Linked DNA regions of Homo sapiens: regions 1, 2, 3, 5, 6 and 7 are each linked to region 4. Evidence: promoter capture Hi-C in 16 types of primary human blood cells and fetal thymus (Javierre and others, 2016). All regions are on one chromosome and are shown on one strand. The core of a region is centred on a gene start or on the middle of the fragment in contact, and the rest is flanking DNA. Distances in the headings are between cores, read along the strand shown. Region 1 has its middle 380 kb from the start of KCNU1. Region 2 has its middle 400 kb from the start of KCNU1. Region 3 has its middle 400 kb from the start of LINC01605. Region 4 holds the start of ERLIN2 (ER lipid raft associated 2). Region 5 overlaps KCNU1 (potassium calcium-activated channel subfamily U member 1). Region 6 has its middle 360 kb from the start of KCNU1. Region 7 overlaps KCNU1 (potassium calcium-activated channel subfamily U member 1).

Evidence for each region. The method cuts DNA at HindIII sites, captures the fragments that hold promoters and counts their contacts. A CHiCAGO score of 5 or more calls a contact.
Region 1: a contact is called between a fragment that was not itself captured here and the fragment with the promoter of ERLIN2 in region 4, in 3 of 17 cell types (M0 macrophages, M1 macrophages and M2 macrophages). The highest score is 6.2, in M0 macrophages.
Region 2: a fragment that was not itself captured here is called in contact with the fragment with the promoter of ERLIN2 in region 4 in 3 of 17 cell types (M2 macrophages, M0 macrophages and M1 macrophages); the score reaches 11.1 in M2 macrophages.
Region 3: a contact is called between a fragment that was not itself captured here and the fragment with the promoter of ERLIN2 in region 4, in 2 of 17 cell types (M1 macrophages and M0 macrophages). The highest score is 6.0, in M1 macrophages.
Region 5: a contact is called between a fragment that was not itself captured here and the fragment with the promoter of ERLIN2 in region 4, in 2 of 17 cell types (megakaryocytes and M1 macrophages). The highest score is 5.4, in megakaryocytes.
Region 6: a fragment that was not itself captured here is called in contact with the fragment with the promoter of ERLIN2 in region 4 in 1 of 17 cell types (endothelial precursors); the score reaches 7.2 in endothelial precursors.
Region 7: a contact is called between a fragment that was not itself captured here and the fragment with the promoter of ERLIN2 in region 4, in 5 of 17 cell types (M0 macrophages, M2 macrophages, endothelial precursors and 2 more). The highest score is 11.2, in M0 macrophages.

The regions. Positions count from the first base shown.
Region 1 is chr8:37,159,492-37,162,191 of GRCh38, reverse strand. No RefSeq gene overlaps it. Among named protein-coding and RNA genes, the nearest start is that of KCNU1, 380 kb to the right of the region's middle. The HindIII fragment of the contact is 5,502 bases long and covers 1-2,700 here.
Region 2 is chr8:37,178,568-37,181,267 of GRCh38, reverse strand. No RefSeq gene overlaps it. Among named protein-coding and RNA genes, the nearest start is that of KCNU1, 400 kb to the right of the region's middle. The HindIII fragment of the contact is 1,091 bases long and covers 739-1,829 here.
Region 3 is chr8:37,194,974-37,197,673 of GRCh38, reverse strand. No RefSeq gene overlaps it. Among named protein-coding and RNA genes, the nearest start is that of LINC01605, 400 kb to the left of the region's middle. The HindIII fragment of the contact is 299 bases long and covers 1,118-1,416 here.
Region 4 is chr8:37,735,353-37,738,052 of GRCh38, reverse strand. It overlaps ERLIN2 (ER lipid raft associated 2), which reads right to left and starts at 1,419. Exons shown (of 12, transcript NM_007175.8): 1 at 1,375-1,419; 2 at 24-145. The coding sequence starts at 130. LOC102723701 (a long non-coding RNA gene) reads left to right here and starts at 627. Exons shown (of 2, transcript NR_125821.1): 1 at 627-674; 2 at 1,255-2,700. RefSeq lists enhancers at 65-857, 1,337-1,546. The HindIII fragment of the contact is 8,102 bases long and covers 1-2,700 here.
Region 5 is chr8:36,869,909-36,872,608 of GRCh38, reverse strand. All of the region lies in intron 19 of KCNU1 (potassium calcium-activated channel subfamily U member 1), which reads right to left. Among named protein-coding and RNA genes, the nearest start is that of KCNU1, 87 kb to the right of the region's middle. The HindIII fragment of the contact is 1,273 bases long and covers 649-1,921 here.
Region 6 is chr8:37,142,037-37,144,736 of GRCh38, reverse strand. No RefSeq gene overlaps it. Among named protein-coding and RNA genes, the nearest start is that of KCNU1, 360 kb to the right of the region's middle. RefSeq lists an enhancer at 790-1,989. The HindIII fragment of the contact is 1,248 bases long and covers 720-1,967 here.
Region 7 is chr8:36,853,149-36,855,848 of GRCh38, reverse strand. All of the region lies in intron 18 of KCNU1 (potassium calcium-activated channel subfamily U member 1), which reads right to left. Among named protein-coding and RNA genes, the nearest start is that of KCNU1, 70 kb to the right of the region's middle. The HindIII fragment of the contact is 703 bases long and covers 915-1,617 here.

The sequences.
Region 1 (2,700 bases), core at 110-2,609, 580 kb after region 4:
GTTTCTCTGCACAAGCTCTCTCTTTGCCTGCTGCCATCCACATAAGATGTGACTTGTTCCTCCTTGCCTTCCATCATGATTGTGAGGCCTCCCCAGCCATGTGGAACTGTAAGTCCAATAAACCTCTTTCTTTTGTAAATTGCCCAGTCTCAGGTATGTCTTTATCAGCAGCATGAAAACGGACTAATACAGGGACTACCTAAGGTGGACCAACTCTGCCCTGGCAGATGAGACACCACTCCATTCTCCTGGTTTGGAGGGTGAGCTCTTTCCACAGAGAGGCAACTTGTGGCCACCTCAAGGGAGGAGACAGCCCTCTCCTGCCTCACACTCTTACTGTGCTGGAACCAAAGCTCAGCTCCTTTCCTTCTTTGCAAAAAGCAATGAGGTTCAGACACTTTCTGTGCTAAGCAGCCACCCTCTCCTCTGGAGATTTGAGTGTCCAGGAGTTTCAGGGAATAAACAATCTGAACATGACTTTTACTCATCAAACTCATGATTCAAAACCTGCTGAACTGCTAGGACAATCTAGTCTATGTGCTGAAAATGAACATGTTTCTGTGAAGGTGGTGTTTTACTTCCATTTAGTTAATACAAGGTGTGTTTATGCTCTAGAATATGCGTATTTCATCCCCCTTTGACTGGGAAAAAAACTAATGAAAAATATTTTCTAACTCTCCAATGCCCACTCCCAAAATGAACCTGGCCAGATGCTGAGGCCTCGGGTTGCTTGGTGGCCTTGGACAGTTCAGGGGGACTGAGGTGTGCAGTGCTGAGGACTCCTGTGGGACACTCGGGCCTCTTGCAGAAGCTCTGGTGGCCTCCTCTGGTCTTGAGGTTTGCTCAGGCTTCGGGTAGAACTTTCTCTCTTATGCAAGATTGGGTACAATTTCCAGTCCCCTTGGGCAAGCCAAGGCCACCAAGCAATGTGAGGTCTCAGCATCTGGCCCACTTTATTTTGGAAGTGGGCGCTGAAGAGTTAGAAAACATTTTTCATTGTTTTTTTTTTTTCCCGGTCAAAAGGGGATGGAATATGCATATACTAGGGCATAAACGTACATTTTATTAACTAAACAGAAGTTATATTTCTCAAAGATGCCACCTTCACACAGCAGCATAGAGGATTTGGGGGTCAGCTTCCTGGGTGTGGCTTTGTCCTGGCTTGGACAGAGTGGGGGTAACAGCTGTGTTTACAATGAGCACTCCTCTCGTTGCTTCTGACATGGTATTTTTTTTAACATCAACTTTTCCATTTATCTTTGCTTGTCAGGGAAACGCACACACACACAGCCCCTAAATCTCCTTGTACAAAGGAAAGCTAGGTAGGTTATAATTTCCTTCTTGGAAAAAAAAGCCCTACAAACTCCTCACAGTATGATTTCATAGGCATTGCTAATTATTTTTTAGGGTGAGCATAATAAAACCCAGGTGACTTGCCTTCAGCAGTTTCTTGTTATCTTCACACAGCTCTGGATCGTTTACCGGCATGGCAAGCAATTACCATGAGCCCTGCAGTTTTTACCAGACATTCTTTGTCGGAACCCTGCTAGAGTCCACAAAGGTTAATATGCTTTTGCACTACAAAATCTGGGCATTATCTTGTGTATTGTAAGACATGCCTGTGACACGTTGAATTCAGATGATTTACAAGATCAGCAAAACAGAAGGGGTTCCCGTTGGGAGCATTTTCTGCTACTGATTTCCTCATCAGAATGTGACTCTGGGAGGCGTGGTGGTTTGCACAGGACTTCTGCAGGGGACAGGGCTGTTGGTCCTGTTTCTCCAGGGGTGCTGAAGAGTTTGGAATGTGACCTGCTCACGTGGGCATGTGCGGATGCCCAGAGATGTGCTTCTCCTGGAAATAGTATTTTGTTTTTGTTTCTCATAATTATTGTACATCATTTATTTGAGTTGAGATTCTAATGTTAAATTCATCATCCATCATCCATATACAGAAATAATTGCACTAAGCATTTATTTTTTTTAAGAGACAGGGTCTTTCTCTGTTGCCTAGGCTGGAATGCAGCGGTGCAATCATAGTTGACGGCAGCCCTGATGTCCTGGGCTCAAGTGATCCTCCCACCTCAGCCTCTGGAGTAGCTGGTACTATAGGCATGTGCCACTATGCCTGACTAATTTTTAAAACATTTTGTAGAATCAGTTTCACTTTGTTGCCCAGACTGGAAAGCAAGTGTTTGGAGTGACTTTCTGGAAAAGAAGATTTGGACCTAAATATTGATAGAATTGGGAGGTAGAGTATCTGATCCCCATTAAGACCTCAACTCAGATGTGACCTCCTTCATGGGGAGTTCCCTGGCTGCCTGTCCTACATTGTCCTGCCTTCCCGTTACCACTCCCATCCCCCAAATTAGGGATTGTCTTCCTCACTCTCTGAAATGGTTGCATTTGTGTGTTAAACTGATTCAGTTACTGTCACCCCTCTGGGATGTGACGCCATGGAGCCAGTACTTTCCCCATTTTTACTCACTGTTTTATATTCCAGCCCAGACAGTTTCTGGCTCAGAGTAGGCCCCAATAAATATTTGTTGAGTTTTCACATATTTTGTCTCCATATCTGTATAGTAAGCAGAGGTGTTGGGTATGGAATAGTGCTGGCTGTCTTATTCAGAATCCACTCTGTTTAAGGATCCATCCTGAATTTGCTCTTATTCATTCATTCATTTGTTGGTTCACTAAAAA
Region 2 (2,700 bases), core at 35-2,534, 560 kb after region 4:
CCATTGAAAGTCTAAGTGTTTTCCATTCCCTTCTCCCCCCTTGCCTTCCTCCTCCTCTCTTTTTATCCTACTGTACACGTCAAAAGGAGGAAATGGATAGAAAATTGTGCTTCAGCAGAAGAGAAAATAATTTACCTTGCCCATTAGTCTTACTGGGGCTTCCAGCAGCTGAGATCCTGCTCAGGCAGAAGCCTGTATCACTTAGAACCCACCACGAACATCTCTGCACCGTGTCCACAGTCACTGCTTGCAGGACACCCAGTGGATGGCAAATATAACGGCAGGCACTCATGATGCGGGCAGGAGGACAGACGGAGGTGCGGAGAGAGTGTGGGCCAGGTTGGGGGCCGAGGGTGGCCTGCTTCAAGGGAGCCCAGAAGCACCCATGTGTATGCCTCTAACCTGGCTCTCTGCCCCTCTGGGGCTCCTGGGCTGCCATTCTGTTTGATTTTCCTCTCCTGAGTTCACTCCACCTGCCCTGCTCCCCTCCACCTTGACGGACCAGGTGGCCAACACAGGCTGTGTGATAATGGGAAGGGTGCTGAACTCCCTGAAACTTCTATCCACATGGGAAATTGTTGAGCTAGGACAGTGTTTTTCAATTTTTGCTTGTTTTGTTTTGCATGAACAGAAGGAGGCTTAAAAAATGAAATATTGGGAAACCCAAATTCACTTGAATCAATCTCTGGCAGAGACCTGGCCCACTCCCAGGGTTCTATCTCTCCCACCTCAGAAGCTTCTGAGACCCAGGGCCTGGGAGCCCTCATGAATCCAGGACTAAAACTACTGGGCGGGTGCTGGTCTCTGAGGACCCTCCCAGCCTTGTGGTGCGTGACCTTGGGGGCTGGAACCCTCATCAAAGGGAATCCTTGCCTTAGAAGGAGCTGACTGGGTCAAGAGCAAACATTCGAGAAAGGATGTTCAGGACATGGTGTGGGTTAAGATGCCACAGCAGGGGTCAGAGGGTACTTCGTGAGTGGTTGAGGATGAGTTTTATTTATCTCTGGTTCGTTTACCTCTATGATCAGATGTGTGCTTAGGTTGCAGAGCGCTCTGTCTTACCTGTCCTCGCATGATGTCTACAGGATTATTTTTGCAGTCCCTTTTCTGCAAAGGTAATTACTTCTGGAGGCATAGGGAGACAGACAGCACCAGCATGATGGCCTGGCCTTGGCCTCCTGTCTGCAGGCAGGGCCAGGGCCAGGAGTTCATCCTGATGCTGGTCCTGCATGGAGCTGTGAGCTGGGCTCCTCCCGCTGGTGCACAGTGACCCCTGCTGCTGCATGGCAGGCCTGAGAGAGAGAGAGGGAGGGAGAGAGAGAAATAGAGAGAGAGAGAGAGAGAGAGGCTGGGGGGGATAGGCAAGTGGGGGGAGGGGGAGAGAGAAGAAGAAAGAAGAGGGAGGGAGAGGAGACAGGAGGGAAGAGAAGCCAGAGGGGGAAAGGGGAGGGAGAGGGGTGAGCACTCCCCAGGGAGCTATATTACGTCCTTTCTGTGGCCACCCCACCCACTGTTGTCCCCATACCCAGTGGAGGTCAGAACCCCTTTTGACCATCCCGAGGTTTTTATAATGACTCCTTGCAAAGTGGAAATCAATCTCTGGAGACCAAAGGAGGCAAATATGCTTCGAGAAGAGCCTGGTCTGGTTTCTCAGGGCCACCCCTTCCAAAGGCTCCTTGTTTGGTGTGGCTGTGAAACCACATCTGGGGCTTCAGAATATGTGGGGTTCTTTGGTTTGGCTCCCCTAGGAAAAAGGGGTTTTGTGTGTTGGAGGCAGGAGAGGAAGTATCTTGGGGCGAAGGCTTAGCGAAATCACGTGGGACGAAGCTTCCCTCTCTAACAAAAGGACTGCCAAGTCCTACGCTCTCAGCAGAGAAAAGAACAGTTTTGTGTCTCTTTGTTTGTTCCTTGGTTTATTCACTCAGTCACAAAATTAATTCTCAAACGTGGTAAGCAGAGGCTGGTTGGCCCTTCAAGGAAGGGGGTATCTTCTGCATGTCATCAGATGGGAGGGAGGTGCCTGGGATAGGAGACAGTCTTTGCTAGCTTTCCTGTTCCTGGAACCCCCTCCCTAAGGTGCTGTGATACAGGTAAAACAACACTATAGAGATGAGTACAAGTGGAGACCACTGGGCTGCCTGACGTCTCATCCCCCTGTGTTCTACAGGGGACCCACAGGTGTCTTTTCTTAGGAGACTGGAGAATACAGTTCTTCATGTCAACCTTTGCAGATAAAGTATGAGCTGCATGAGTGAGTGTTGACATGGTGTTTTGTGTGATTTGTGCCTACAGTGGGCATTAGTGATAGAGTTCCAGAAGCAATCAATGGTAGGGGAGGGTTACATCGTGCCCTTTCTTGTCTGTGAGTCTGTGCTCACTGGGAGATGCCCTCACCTCTCCTTTCTGCCAAGCTCTGCCCACCATCAACCTCCCCAGACCCCGTGTGCGTGGACCCCCTCCTCCTTCACTGAGCACTGGTCTACTCCACACTCCTGAGCATTTGTGCTAAGCTCCAATTATTCCTCATGCTAAGTCCTGTTCCCTCCACTAGATTCTAAGTGCTGCAACTACAAAGCCAATGTCTCACCCTCGCCTTCACTTTTTGCAGCCCCTACAGCCCCTAGTACAGCTCCTGAGAAAGACTTGAGCACAAAGACACACTTGTTAGATTGAACTGAATCTCTTTAGAAACTTTTCTTC
Region 3 (2,700 bases), core at 18-2,517, 540 kb after region 4:
GTTTCTTAACTTTAAAAAATTGTTTTCCATCTCCTGCTCCTTTCAGGAAAAGCTCTTCTGTTACATTTTACAACTCCTTAATTCTTTTTCTTTTTTTTTTTTTTGCTCTATCCATCATGTAAATTGCTGAATATTTGATTCTTTATTTCCATTATCATCTATAATATTTCCACTTGGTTCTTTCTTTATGCTTATATTATCCCTTATATCTTTATTTGGTAAGCCTATTTAAATTATTGATCTGCTTAAGCTAATCATTTGGCTTTAGATGGTCGACATTTTTTATTTAGTTGCCTTTCTTTTGAGTGGTTGTACTCCTTGAGTGGTTGTACTCCTTGAGTGGTTATTCTGGCATGTAGGCTCAAGTTCCTTTGGGGATATTTCCCTTTGGGGAAGAACTGATGTCATGTAGACTGTGTTTTACTCACTGGGTTTAAAGAGATGGTAGATGATGAACCCCAGGTGGTAAAGACAGTTAAACCCTACAGAATTATTGCTGGTCACTCAAAATTGCCCCCACTCTTATTAGGTACTTTCTCTGACCAGGGTTTTGCTTTAAATTCTCAGAACAAGGAATTCCTGGGCGGAGAGTAAATACCCAAAATAGTTGCTTGGTCAACCCCTATTTTCCTCACTCTTCACCCCAACAACACTTTCGCACTTTCCTGATATTCTCCTGCTGATGGAGGGTGAGACCCAGCCAACTTAGCTTAACAAGCCTTCCAAGTAATTCCCATGCATGTGAAGTAATGAGAACCACTGGGTTTTTCATTTCTCAGGTTGATATTGAAGGGAGGAACCAACAGCCTGAACTGGTTTGCTATATGGTCAAGATCTGAGGACTGATTTCAACATCCTCATTTTTGAAGAGTTCCCTGATCCTGTTTCATGAAGGCACATCTTCTTTTATCCTTTTGAAATGATTAACCAGAGTTTAAATTTTCTTTTCAAATTTTCTCCTCTTGTCTGCATTGCCTTCATTTATAACAAGTTTCTTGTTTCTGTTTTGCTTGCTTGTTTTTGTTTTGGTCTTTTTCTTTCATGTGTTAGGAGTTCCCCACAGGTCTAGTAATCACTGCATGTCAGTTTGTAATGAAGGCGGGGTTGCTTGGAAGCTTTGTTTCCCAGAAGGAGGCCTCTTGGTTTGGGGCTTTGCTTGCAGGCTGATTGGGCTAGGACCCAGCCATTTCATGTGGGGATCCCCTCCCCTCCCTTAATGTCACTAACCACAGATATTTTCTCTTAGGCCCATCAGTTTCCCAGGGGAGAATCCTTAAGTATCCTGCATCAGGTATGTCAGCTTAGCTGCTGTCATAAATGTGTTTAATGTAGTTGCTGCCTCTGCACCCATTTCTAGGCTGACATACGTTATCTGAAACCCATTTCTACCCTGCCACCTTTGGCCTAGTTAAAGCTTCCCCTCCCTATGTGGTTGTTTGTGATATAACCCTCTTGTTCTTCATCTCATTGACCCCAAACCCAACACACCCCTCAGCTGCTGATCACAATAAAACCTAATGGTCAATACCAGATCATGTAAATAAGTTTTTCCCCTCTGGAGTGTTTTCCATAAACTAGCCAATTCACAGCCCCCTTAGGGAAGCCTGAAGGGTAATACCCATGGGCTTTGATGAAGGTGGCCCCGACAGGCTCACTGACTTGCTCAGTGGGTGATCTCCCTGCTGTCTCCAGACTTCACACTGGCCTGCCTTGGGCACCAAGTCTCTCTGACCTGTGAATAATACATTTCTTCTGTTTCATGCATTTTAGTTTCACCTCCTTATTGTGTCTTACCTGATACACACATAAACCTAACTTTCCCCTCTGTCAGCAGTCTCCTGCAGAGTGGCTATCTTGGCTTATGGCCACTCTTAAGAGAGAGACACCTCAAGACAAATTAGAACAAACCATAACCATAGAAATCACAACAGCCGTGAACATTTTGGGAGCTGAGAAGATGTGCACTGGAGGGCTTAATGTTCTGTGTGTCAATTTCCCCTCTCTTTAATAATTGGTTCATTATGTTTTCAGCAACTGCTGTTGTCCTCGGTGTCAGACCCTGTCTGGCTCAATCTCTACTTAGAGCAGTAGTTCCCAGACTTTAGCTTGCATCAGAATCATCTAGAGAGGGCTTATTGAAACACAGATTGGTGAGCCCCATTTTAGAGTGTCCGATTCAGCAGGTCTGGGGTGAGGCCTGAAAATGTACCTTTCTAGCCAGTTCCCAGGTAATACTAACCCTGCTGGTCTCAGGTCCCCACTTTGAAAACCACTGCTATGGAGTAATCCTTTAGACTCCTACTGGAGCAAAGAGGGCCACCTGGCTACATGGGTAGAAGAGGGCGTCTGTGAGCCTGACTCCTTCTTTTAAAGACTTTTAACCAGTCCTTATATGGATAGCCCTGCTCTGCACCCTTGCTGCAGAGGCATTTGGTACCTCCAATTCCTGAGCCTTCTGGGACTATGCTGTGAAGTGGCTGGTTCTTGAGGCTCTCCCGTGCTGCCAATGTAGTTTAGCTTTTTCTTGTCTGCTATTTCTATTGTCATTTACCTGTTTACTAATTGCTTCCAAAATTTCATTGCTATTTCTTGTCAGCTGTGACCTCTTCACCAGCTCTTGGTGGATCTGCTGAATTGTTTTGCCTTTTGTTGGCCGTTATTTTAGTGTCATTAGTCAGAATCAAGCATGTATTCAACTGG
Region 4 (2,700 bases), core at 170-2,669:
GCTTCTCCCTGTCTCTGCCTTACCTGTAATATACCCCAATATGTCCCTCTTCTATCTTGTGCACAGCTGAGAAGAGAGATGCACAAAAGAAACTGGAAGCCACAGCCACAACTGCTCCCAACTGAGCCATCAGTGAGCCTTTATCCTAGGGAAAAGACACGGGAAAATGTGTGTGGTCCAACGTGCAGGAGAAAAGGCCACAACAGCGAGAGGACCTCACCAAGCTGAGCTCCCTGCGAGTGACTCATATCCAGCCTGGTGTCGTGTGAACACAAGGCTAGATCTACAACTCGCTTCCTCCTCGTTCTCAGTCAACGTTCCCCTTTCTTTAACTGTAAAATTAGAGCCCCCACCGCACTGAGGAAGCACTGGCTCCGGATACAGCCGTTGCTCAAGGGAGAACCCGTGCCAGCTGGGTAGGGTTCAGAACACAGCCTTGTCTTCCTGTGAACACGAATGTGCTGTCACTGAACCTTTCCTACCAGTAGTAGGGAAGAGAGGCAGCTGCAGTACTTTGGCCCAAATTACAGAGGATGCCAAATGACAGGCAGTTGTGGCTATGTAATTCTGGTCAGAGTCTCCCACTCCTAATTGCCTGCAGTTTCAAAGGAAACCATTATTTACTCCTTTCAGATGCTGGAGTGGCAGAGCCAGCAGGCGAGCAGAGTTTCAAGGTAGGATTCGTTGGCCTCGCATCCACCTTCCCAGTTATTCCTTTGGCCCTAAACAGGACAGGGCTCTGAACAAGCCTGAAGCCACACTCCCCCCCATATACTTTGGCACTTTGCACCTGACAGATCCCCAAGCCCGTGGTCAGAGAGAAAGGCAATGTCCCAAACTGCGAGCCTCTAGGCTCCTAGGTCCAACCGCGTTCAGGCACCAGGACGCGGAGGAGTGGGATCCTGAACGCTGAATGATCTGGAACTATGGTGACTGACTGCAAAGTTCAGCTGTGCGTGCGTGGGCCCGTGAGCGCAGGGCGTGGATTCTGCCTCCCAGGTCTAACGTAACCGGGGCGCGGACATCTGCGAGGCGCTTATTTTACCGTGGCGGCCTCCGGCTACCGATCTGCAGTTGCGTCCTTTCCTGCCAGTGCCCTTCCCTCCCCGAGGTCACTCGCGCCCCTTCCCCGCCCCGTTCCGAGAGAGGGTCAAGCGCCCTGGTCTGGGGCTGCGGCTCCAATAGCCTCCGCTCGGTCCCCCTGCGGCTCGCAAGGAGAGGACGCGACAGAAAAGGGTTTCTGTCTCTCTCCAGGAGCGGGCCGGCTGAGGGAGAGAAGCTGCTGGGACTGAGGTTCCCGAAAGTGACGGGTCAGCCCCGACCCTGAGCGGCAGCTAGGCCCAGCGCGCGCACGAAGGGGCGGGGGCCGCGTACCAGGCTGTCCCTGCAGGCGCTCCGTACTCGTCCGAGCCCACGAGCAAGAAAACCGTCACACCCCTCAGCACGCGACTTCCTTCCGGGCCGTCGCTTCGATGACGCCATCAATTCACGCGAGAAGACCACACCCCCGCCCCGCGCTCGCTCTGCGCCCCGCCCCTCGCGCTCCCAGCGGTCAATGGCCGTAGCTGGCCGCCAGGGATCGCCCGCGACTTGGTCGGTGCGGTCCTGGACCTCGGTCTTGGGTATCCGTCCTGGGGCTGGGGATGAGGGCGGTGTTGGTGGGAGCTCCCCGAGAGCGAGCGGCAGGACGCGCATGCCCCGGAGTACTGAGACCCAGGGCGAACCTTTCCAAGGCGTTGACTTTGGGGATTGCTCCGGATTTCCTTCTGCATTAGGCCGAACCTGGTTCGTTTTGGTTTTTTTAGAGACAAGGTCTCGCTCTTTTGCCCAGGCTGGAGTGCAGTGGCACGATCATAGCTCACTACAGCCTCGAACTCCTGGGCTTAAGCGATCCTCCCACCTCACCCTGCTGAGTAGCTGGGACCACAGGCGCACGCCACGACACTTGACAATTTTATTTTTAGTAAAGACAGGGTCTTGGTATTTCTGGTCTCAAACTCTGGCTTCAAGCAATCCTCCTGCCTCGGCCTCCCAAACTGCTGGGATTACAGGCATGAGCCACCATGCGCGGCCTTTTTTTTTTTCTCTCCTTGATAAGGTACTGGCGAGTTGCAACTGTTTGCTTTCCTATAGCACAGCTGAAATGAAACAGTCTTTTCAATGTACAGATTAGCATCATTACCTCACCAATCAAAAATCCCTACCTTGAGTTGTTCTTTATATTTTTCTGGGAGCTTTGGCCCTTGGGATCCTGCAACGCCACAAAGTATATTAACAAGGAATTATTATTCTAATTTTAATGAACGGAATCTAAGAAGTTCAGCGAGGTTCAAGGGTAAAAGCCAAGGAAAGTTTCCTTTGTGTTTCCTTAATATCTTGAGTTCACTGCTTTTTAAACTCCTGCCACAGTGCACAGGGGCTAGTGCACTTCGTCTTTCTAGATAAACTGTACGTTCCCGGGAGAGCAGAGACTGACTTTCCTTCCGCACCCCCGGGGCTTAGGTGCCCAGTAAAAACAGACTGAAGGCAACGTGGGACCAGGCCCGGAATCCAGAGTTTGTGTCTCCTAGTCTAAGGGCCTCACGTTGTCCTCCACCTGCCCTATTCACCAGCATCACATTGGGGCATTTCTAATTCAGCCACTGAGGTTATTAATATTTTGTTTGCAGGAGAGAAAGAGTCCACTTAATTATAGCCTTC
Region 5 (2,700 bases), core at 36-2,535, 870 kb after region 4:
GTCTTATACTTAATCTTCTCATCATTTCTATGAGATTGTATTATTTATTTTACTGGATGGGGGATCTGAGCCACAGGACAGTAAGTGACTTGCTTATGGTCACAGAGCATGAACATCACAGAGCTGTGATCTGACAATCTACAGTTTACTGCTGGAGCCCCCACCATAGTTACAGGGCGGGGCGGCGTCCCCCTTTATCTCTCTTTCTGAAGCCAAAAAGCTAACATAGCATAGCATGCGATAGGCTTCGAGATGTGGTATTGGATGTACATAGAAGACTCTTATTGGATGTTGCCTAAAATTATACCTCCCCTATACGTTGACACCTGAAATTTGTTAGTTAGGGCTTTGTTCCTTAGCTGAAGTCCCTGATCCATGATGAAAGGGAAGCTGCCCCAGAAGGGTTAATATTTTATTCTTCTGTTTTTGCAAATGAAGTTTTAAATAATAGATGTTGATGAGGACATTTAAATACCTGGGGACTGTGAGCCCCTGAGAAAGATGATGATAAGGTGTTACTCAGAGGGCAAATAACACAAAGTGAAAATCAGTGCGATTTGCCTACTTCACATTTTTTTTTCTTGGAAACTATGCAAGTCATGTCTCAAGGCCTTGAAGAGAGTTTTACTTAGAAACAGTGACTAAGCTTCGCATAACCTTCACTTTGTCTTATAGAGTTGGTCTTTTATATATGACCCTAAACAGACAAGGTCTCATTCCTGCCTTTTAGGAGATTATAAATGAAATGAAGAATAAAAGCATGCAAATAGTAGTTAACTAATGCAAATAAATATATGCACTCAGTAAATGATCAGTCATCCCATAGTAATTTTTATCGCAATGATCTGAGGGCCACTTCCTCATCTTAGCACCCAGCCAAATCAATTTCCATACCCGTAATTCCAGGAGAATTTGTTTTTAGTTTTTTAAAAGACCTGTCCACAGACTCACAAAGATATTTACAAAATGCCTTGTCTCTCCTTTATTATAGTCTGTGAAGCTAGGCAGGATGAGGGAGATGACAGTAACGAAGAGAGATGCTGACTTTTCTATGGTACAATTCTGATGCTTTTAAGAAGCCTGAAGCTATTTTTCTGCTATTTTTAAGCAATAACAATAAAATTTTGTTTGTTAATCTAAAGAATCAGATTATTCAATACATACCTGATGAATTATTGCTCGCTCTCTCTCTCTCTCTATGTATATATATATATATATGGTACTTTGCTAGGATTGTGGCACATTGCTTCCCAAAAATGGGATTTTCACCTATGAATACAAAATAAGAACTAGAAAAGAGGTATTTAGAGGATCTGAAGGAAAATATCTAGTCATCTTTTCAAAATTCTTATTCTTATATTCCCTGCCACCCTAACTCTTTCATCTGTCTTTGGAACTCAGGCTCATTGTGATTAAAAGTATAGTTTTTATATGTATATGTGTATGTATATTTTCAATCCTACCTCTAGATTATCCCTATAATTATATGAGAATATATTTAGTCCTGCTGTCTTCTTTGGTCTTGCTATTGAGACCTGATGAAGATATTTATTAAACTTCATTGCAGACACATAGCCCTGCTAGGGATTCTGGTGGTCCCAAATTATACCATCAATTAAAATGAGAGAAAGCATATTTTAAAGGTTCTAAAATCTCAGGTGGAAAACCATAGAATGGGAAACATAAGTGCCAATGGGACTCTTGGGGAAAGGTAACTCTGAAAGATGAAATACTGGCCATATAGTGTTAAGTGAATGTAGATTTCCAGAACATGATTTGAAATGCTACAGTAAAGGCATCACTCAGTAGGCTTATATGAATGAAAGAACCAGAGAATGCTTTTGATTTACTAGTTATGGGCTACATTACACTCAAATAGGAAAGCCTATGCTTGTCTGGAGGGAAAGTAGTTTTAAAAGCTTAATATAAAATAAGAAGGGATAAAAGGAATTGCTCAGATAATCTCATCTGATCAGTTTCTGTAGAAAGCTCAGATATGACATGAAAAGAGCCATGTACGGTGATTTGTATCCGATCTTCTGCCCCCACTAGGTGGACTCAGAGGCTGGCTCTCAGTAGGAGTTCAGACATCATTGAGGCTAAAAGATGGGGATTCTCTTGCCTGAATAGTTTGGAACACAGAATTCGATAAAGTGTACAGAACTGAGAGTAAAAAGGGAGGAAGGGCTCAGCTTCTTTTCCTGAGACAACAGGGTATGTATGGCAGAGGGGGCATGAAAATAAGAGGTCATAGGGACAGGTGTCTCAGGAGTCATGCGTGAGCATAAATTATGTAGGGCTGGAAATAGATGTGCCAGAAAAGAAACAAACAACTTATCCCAGTTGGATTGAACCTCTTACATCTTTATGGCCAGTGCACTACTTACTAGCAAGCTTCCAGCTTGGCAAAGCCTATCCTGGCAGTCCTTCTGGATGGACTACAGTTTGGTTGGAAATGAAAGACTGCCATAGGATTACTGGAAGGCACTAGAAAATAGCCAAGGAAGGAGCTGGAATTGCCATGGAAAAGAATGTTCTGGAGGGAGAATGGCAAGCTATAGGCCGACTTGGACATGGCAAAGTGACCTTACCAATGGTAACTACTGCATCGTAGATCTTCACTGAAAACCCTGCTGGTATGCTTGTCAGGCTGGTGGTCTATAGATGGTGGTTGTAGACAGTGAATTAAATCTTGCGAGG
Region 6 (2,700 bases), core at 94-2,593, 590 kb after region 4:
TGGACTTTTAATCACAGAAAACAATCCTATGTCACTAAATATCAGAGCTGGAAAATAGCTCAGATAACCTCTTCAGTGGTTTTCAAAAGTGGTTTCTATTTTGCCAGGGGAAAACCGTTCCTCCAAATTCAACATGACGGCTTTCTGAGTCTAACTGATAGATGAAGAAGGGGCTGTACTATCTGGTCAGAGTGCAATGGGGAGTTCAGCCCACTACTCAGCCTCTGCAAAACCCCATGGCAGATTCTGATGTGCCACAGGGTTTTGGCAAATTAAGTAAGGGTGTAGGAGAAGGTACTCTGGAGCAGTTTCCAGGAATTTGGTGCCATGTTGGCTTAGAGAATAACGCCAAAAGGGGCCTTGTGAGAATTCTGTATTCCACATTTTTTTCTGACTCCAGTTCCAGAATCCACATATTTGTGTTTCTGGCTCCAGTTCTAACAGTCAAGGCAGAGGGCGCGTGTCAGTGTGTGATGAGTGTGCAGCAACTGTCCCTGGAAGGCACTGAGAAACACCCAGTAGGACTCTTTAAGGACAAGCAAAGTATCTTCTTCATCTTCACATTCCCTCCTGGCCAGTACATTGCTAAGACTTAAAGCTTTCATTTGTTAACTGAATAATAAAAGTTTGTTTCTCTTTAAAGCATTGCTAGCCATGAGGCTTCCAGGTATTCTTGCTGGGATGAATCCTTTTATTTTAGATATTTTCTTCCCTAAGCTTGTTCTTTTCTTTCTTTTTAGATGAGGCCATCTTTTATTCACATAGTAAGAGCGGGATTGGAATAGAGAGATGGGGAATGAGACAGAGAGGAGGCCTGCCACCTCCATTTGAGCATCATTGCTTGGGGAAAGGTGAGGCAATGGACTCCATCCCAGTCTGTTTTCTGCAGGAGCAGGTTCAAGGTAAGTATAATTTTGTTAATGAGGATCTGAATAATGAACATCTTCCACCCATCCTGTTTCTCTTAAGGAGCCATGCAGGCCGCAGGCCCTTGATAACGTCTAGCCATGGGCTCTGTTTCCCTGGCTACCTTCGCATTCCAGCCCAATATAGGCCCTGCCTGCCTGGGTGGAGGGAAGGGAAGTGAATTCTTGGCTTCCTGAGAATATTTAAGGCAGGCGTGGGGTAGATGTAGGAGGTGGAGGCTCCTGCCTGTTTCCTTGACCATTGACTGGGAAGCAGTCCTGAGTGGGTCAGAGAGGCTGATATGATGTGAGTTTGCACTCAGACAAATTTGCCTTTTCTCCCATGGAGTAGTGGAAATTCTTTTCTTCTGGAGGCAGATCATCCCTCAGTGCTGTGTGGCCTCCAGCCTATCTCTGAGCCTAGGTTTCATTCATTTCCTGTAAAGTGAGGCTAATACCACTCACCTCATAAAAATGTTTTAGGGATTATATGTCATTATGGCTGCAAGCATACCATGTCTATGTGTCATATAATGAAAAAGTTGTCTGTGATTGTAGTTGACGCAAAGAGGAGGTTTCTCTCTGATGATCTCCCTGTGTGGGAAAAATCCTGAGTCCCAGGGCAATCTCAGATCCAGTGGCATCCCTCATCCTGGGGGTCTCCTTCTTGCAGCCAGCTTGCGTTAATCATCCCAGCATTCACAGAGTCCCCCCGGTTGGACTTTGCAGCACAGAGGCCTGGGGCCTGGATGGTGGGAGTGTGTAGGTGAGGCGGGGAGGAGGAAGGAAACGACACTTGTGGGCGTGCTCAGTGTGTTTGTTTTCCATTTGCTGTTTATGAGTGCATGGTTGGGGCCTCTAATTCCATGATGCATGAGTCATTGAGTGGGAAGTGTGCACAGCCCTGTCTTCGTTTATACAAAGCCTTCTAAGGCGTTCCTCCTTCCTGAGGTGTGGGGTCATGGTGAGATGGGGTGGGTGGATGTAGTCTGGTTTAACTTAGTCCATTTCTGGTATGATCACTTTTTTGGCAGAGCATCTGTTACTTGTCATTTACAAGCTTCCCACCCAGAGCCGCTGTAATCCCTGGACCCAATCACAGCCTAGAAAGTGGTGGGACAGAGACAGACAGCTGGACAGACAGGCGGACAAACAGATCAAGGTTGCAAGCTTCTGTTAGAGAGGCTGAAGTAATAGATCTCCCTTCACTGCCACAGAGGTCACTGTGACGACTAGGTCATATTTAATATTTATCTGCGTGTTCCCAACTGCTGGGATTCCCGACAAAGGCAAGAGAATCGTGGAGTCATATAGTCCACGTCCCTTCAGCTAGGTTGAGAATACGGGTGACAGGAGTTGTTTCTGGATGCCTTGTTGGCCAGATTTTTTTCACTGCTGTTTGCCATGATCTTGACCCCCAACATCATGGGGTCTAATTTCAACACTGAAATTAGACATTTGTGAGATGAACCCATAAGCTTTGCTCATTTATCTGTATATACCATGGAAACACCAATCTCAGACATCAAGTGAAATAAAGAGAAAGAAAACAGTATATGATTTTATATTATATGAAATTAAATGTTTATTAACTGGAATATACATGACTTTTGTTGTTGTTGTTGTTGTTGGCAGTCCTGACCCATAGGAAAGTACAGGATTCTAGCATGAATTCCCTTTGATGAATACATACTCTGTCTTCTTGAAGGCTGGATAAAATATGTCAGTGACTTGACCAGGCTGGGGAATGAATTAAGAGAAAAACAAAAAAAATTAATAAAATATTTTTTTTCAC
Region 7 (2,700 bases), core at 17-2,516, 880 kb after region 4:
GTGCTGAAATAAACTGCCAACCAAGAATTTTATACCCAGGAAAACTATCTTTAAAAAATGAAGACAAGATACCAGAAAAAAAATAAAATAAAAGGTAGAGGAAGGACACGAGATAGGCCGCCCCTCCATAAAAATAGAATAAACTGGCAAAACTTGTGAGAATTATTTTTTTTTCAGAACTCTGGAAACTAACCAACAGGAGCCTTGAAAACATTTAGTCGAGAGAAATAAATAGATAGCAGTAAGAGATATAAGATTTGTGTTATTTTAATTTACACTAGTTTCATCTCCAGCTCCACAGCTCATCGATAGCTTTCAAAACATAATACTCCATATTCTTGGCACTAGAGGGAGTACAGCAGAAATACAGTTCTTCAAAAGCCTTATTTCCAAAGAAGAGTCATTATTTTGACTTGTCTGGTGGTTCCCTGCATAACCCTACTTGAATGGCTTTTCTTTTTCAGCCTCATTTGCATGTATCTAGTGCTACAAGCCTATCCCCAGGGAGTGTTATCAAATATATTAACGTCACATGTGCCTGAGGCAACAGATAGCAGGGCAAATTGAAGACCAAATGAAAGCATAAAAGGAAAACTGAAGAATAAAATGTCTTCTTACTTATAAGGGACTTTGAAAAACTCTGGAATATTACTGGAAATCTAAATGACAATGAAGATGCCCAGAACTGTGTAAAGCTGTATGCATAAGCAGAAAGGCCTGAGAAGTTCCAAAGCTCTCATCTCTAACTGACCTTGAGGTTTCATACAAGCAGAAAATGAAGGCTAAACACAGTTGTCAACTTTACAGCTGACTATTGAAGGCATGCCCCAACACAAACACAGAATCCTTTGACAAAGACTGAGAAACTTCTTGGTTCCAGGTGTTTAACAAAAATCATTGTCCAATTATAAGCTTACCACTAAGTTGAGTAGAAAATTCAATGGCCACAAATGACAGAGAGATAGACTTTGGGAAAGTCTACTGGAGAATCTGATTTCCATAAATAACACACTATAACCTGTGTAATGTCTAATTTTCAACAAAAAGTTATAAGACTTGGAAAGAAACAAGCAAGATAAAAATACATAGGAAAAAGGCTCTCAATAGACACCATCCTTGAGAGAAGCTCAGATATTGTACTTACTAGTCAAAGACTTTTAAAATCAGCTAATTTAAATATATTTGAAGAGCTTTAAAAACCTATATATAAATAACCAAAAGGAATATGAGAATGATGTCTCACAAAATAGAGAATGTCATTAAATAGTTACAAATTTTTTTAAGTAGAAATCTTGGAGTTCAAAGTACAAGAACTAAAATAAAAACTTTACAAGAGGAACTAAAGATCAGACTTGAGCATGCAAAAAAAAAAAAAAGAATCAGCATACTCAAAGATAGGTGAATGAAGATTATACAGTTTGAGGGACAGAAGAAAAAAGGAATTAAGAAAAATGAAGACAGCCTAAGGGACCGCTGGGACATTATCAAGTGTACCAAAGGATTTAATGAAAGATCCAGGAGAAGAGTAAAGAAAGGAGTAGAGTGAATATTTGAGAAATAATGGCCAATAACTTCTCAAAGTGGTTGAAAAACATTAATCTACACAACTAAAAAGCTTAATAAACTCCTAGTAGGATAAATTTAAAGAGATTGACACATGGAGACCTGTCATAATCAAAAATGTAAGACTCAAAGACAGAGGGTCTTCAAGTCAGCAAGACAGAAGTGACTCATCGTGTAGAAAGGATGACCAATCAAATTGAAAGCTATTTCTAATCTGAAACAATAGAGGCCAGAAAGAAGTAGGATGAAATATTTAAAGCGCTGAATGAGAAACAACTGCCAACAAAGAATTTAATAGTTAGCAAAACTATCCTCCAAAAATAAATGATAAATTAAGACATTTTTAAGATTAACAAGAACTTAGATCTTGTTCACATATGACAAACCCTACAATAAATACTAACGGGATTCCTTGAGTTTGAAATACAAGCACATTAGGCAGTAATTCAAATCCACAGGAAGAAATAAAAATCACACACACACACACCAACCTATACTTAACCGACCCTATAAACCAACTATACTTAACAGACATCCATATAACATTCCATCTAACAACAGAATAATACATGATCTTCCCAAGTATACATTGAATAGTCTCCAGGATAGACCATGTATTAGACAATGGAGCAAGTCTTAAAATACTATAAGAATTTGTCATACAAAGTATGCTTTCCAACTTCAATGGAATTAAATAAGAATACAATAAAAGAGAAAATTAGGAAAATTCACAAATATGTGAAAGTAAAAACAACACATTTCTTAACAATGGGTCAAAAACATACAAAAAAGAAAACAGAAAACACAGGGAAATTATAAAGTATTTTAAATTAATGAAAATAAAAACATAACACATTAAAAATACACCATGCTTCTAAAGGTGCTTAGAGGGAAATTTTTAGATATAAATGCCTACTTATTTATTTATTTATTTTTTGAGAGAAGTCTTGCTCTGTCAACCAGCTTGGAATGCAGTAGCATGATCTTGGCTCACTGCAGCCTCTGTCTCCCAGGTTCAAGTGACTCTCCTGCCTCAGCCTCCCGAGTAGCCGGGACTACAAGCATGTGCCACCACACCTGGCTGATTTTTGTATTTGTAGTAGAGATGGAGTTTTGCCATGTGGACCAGTCTGGTCT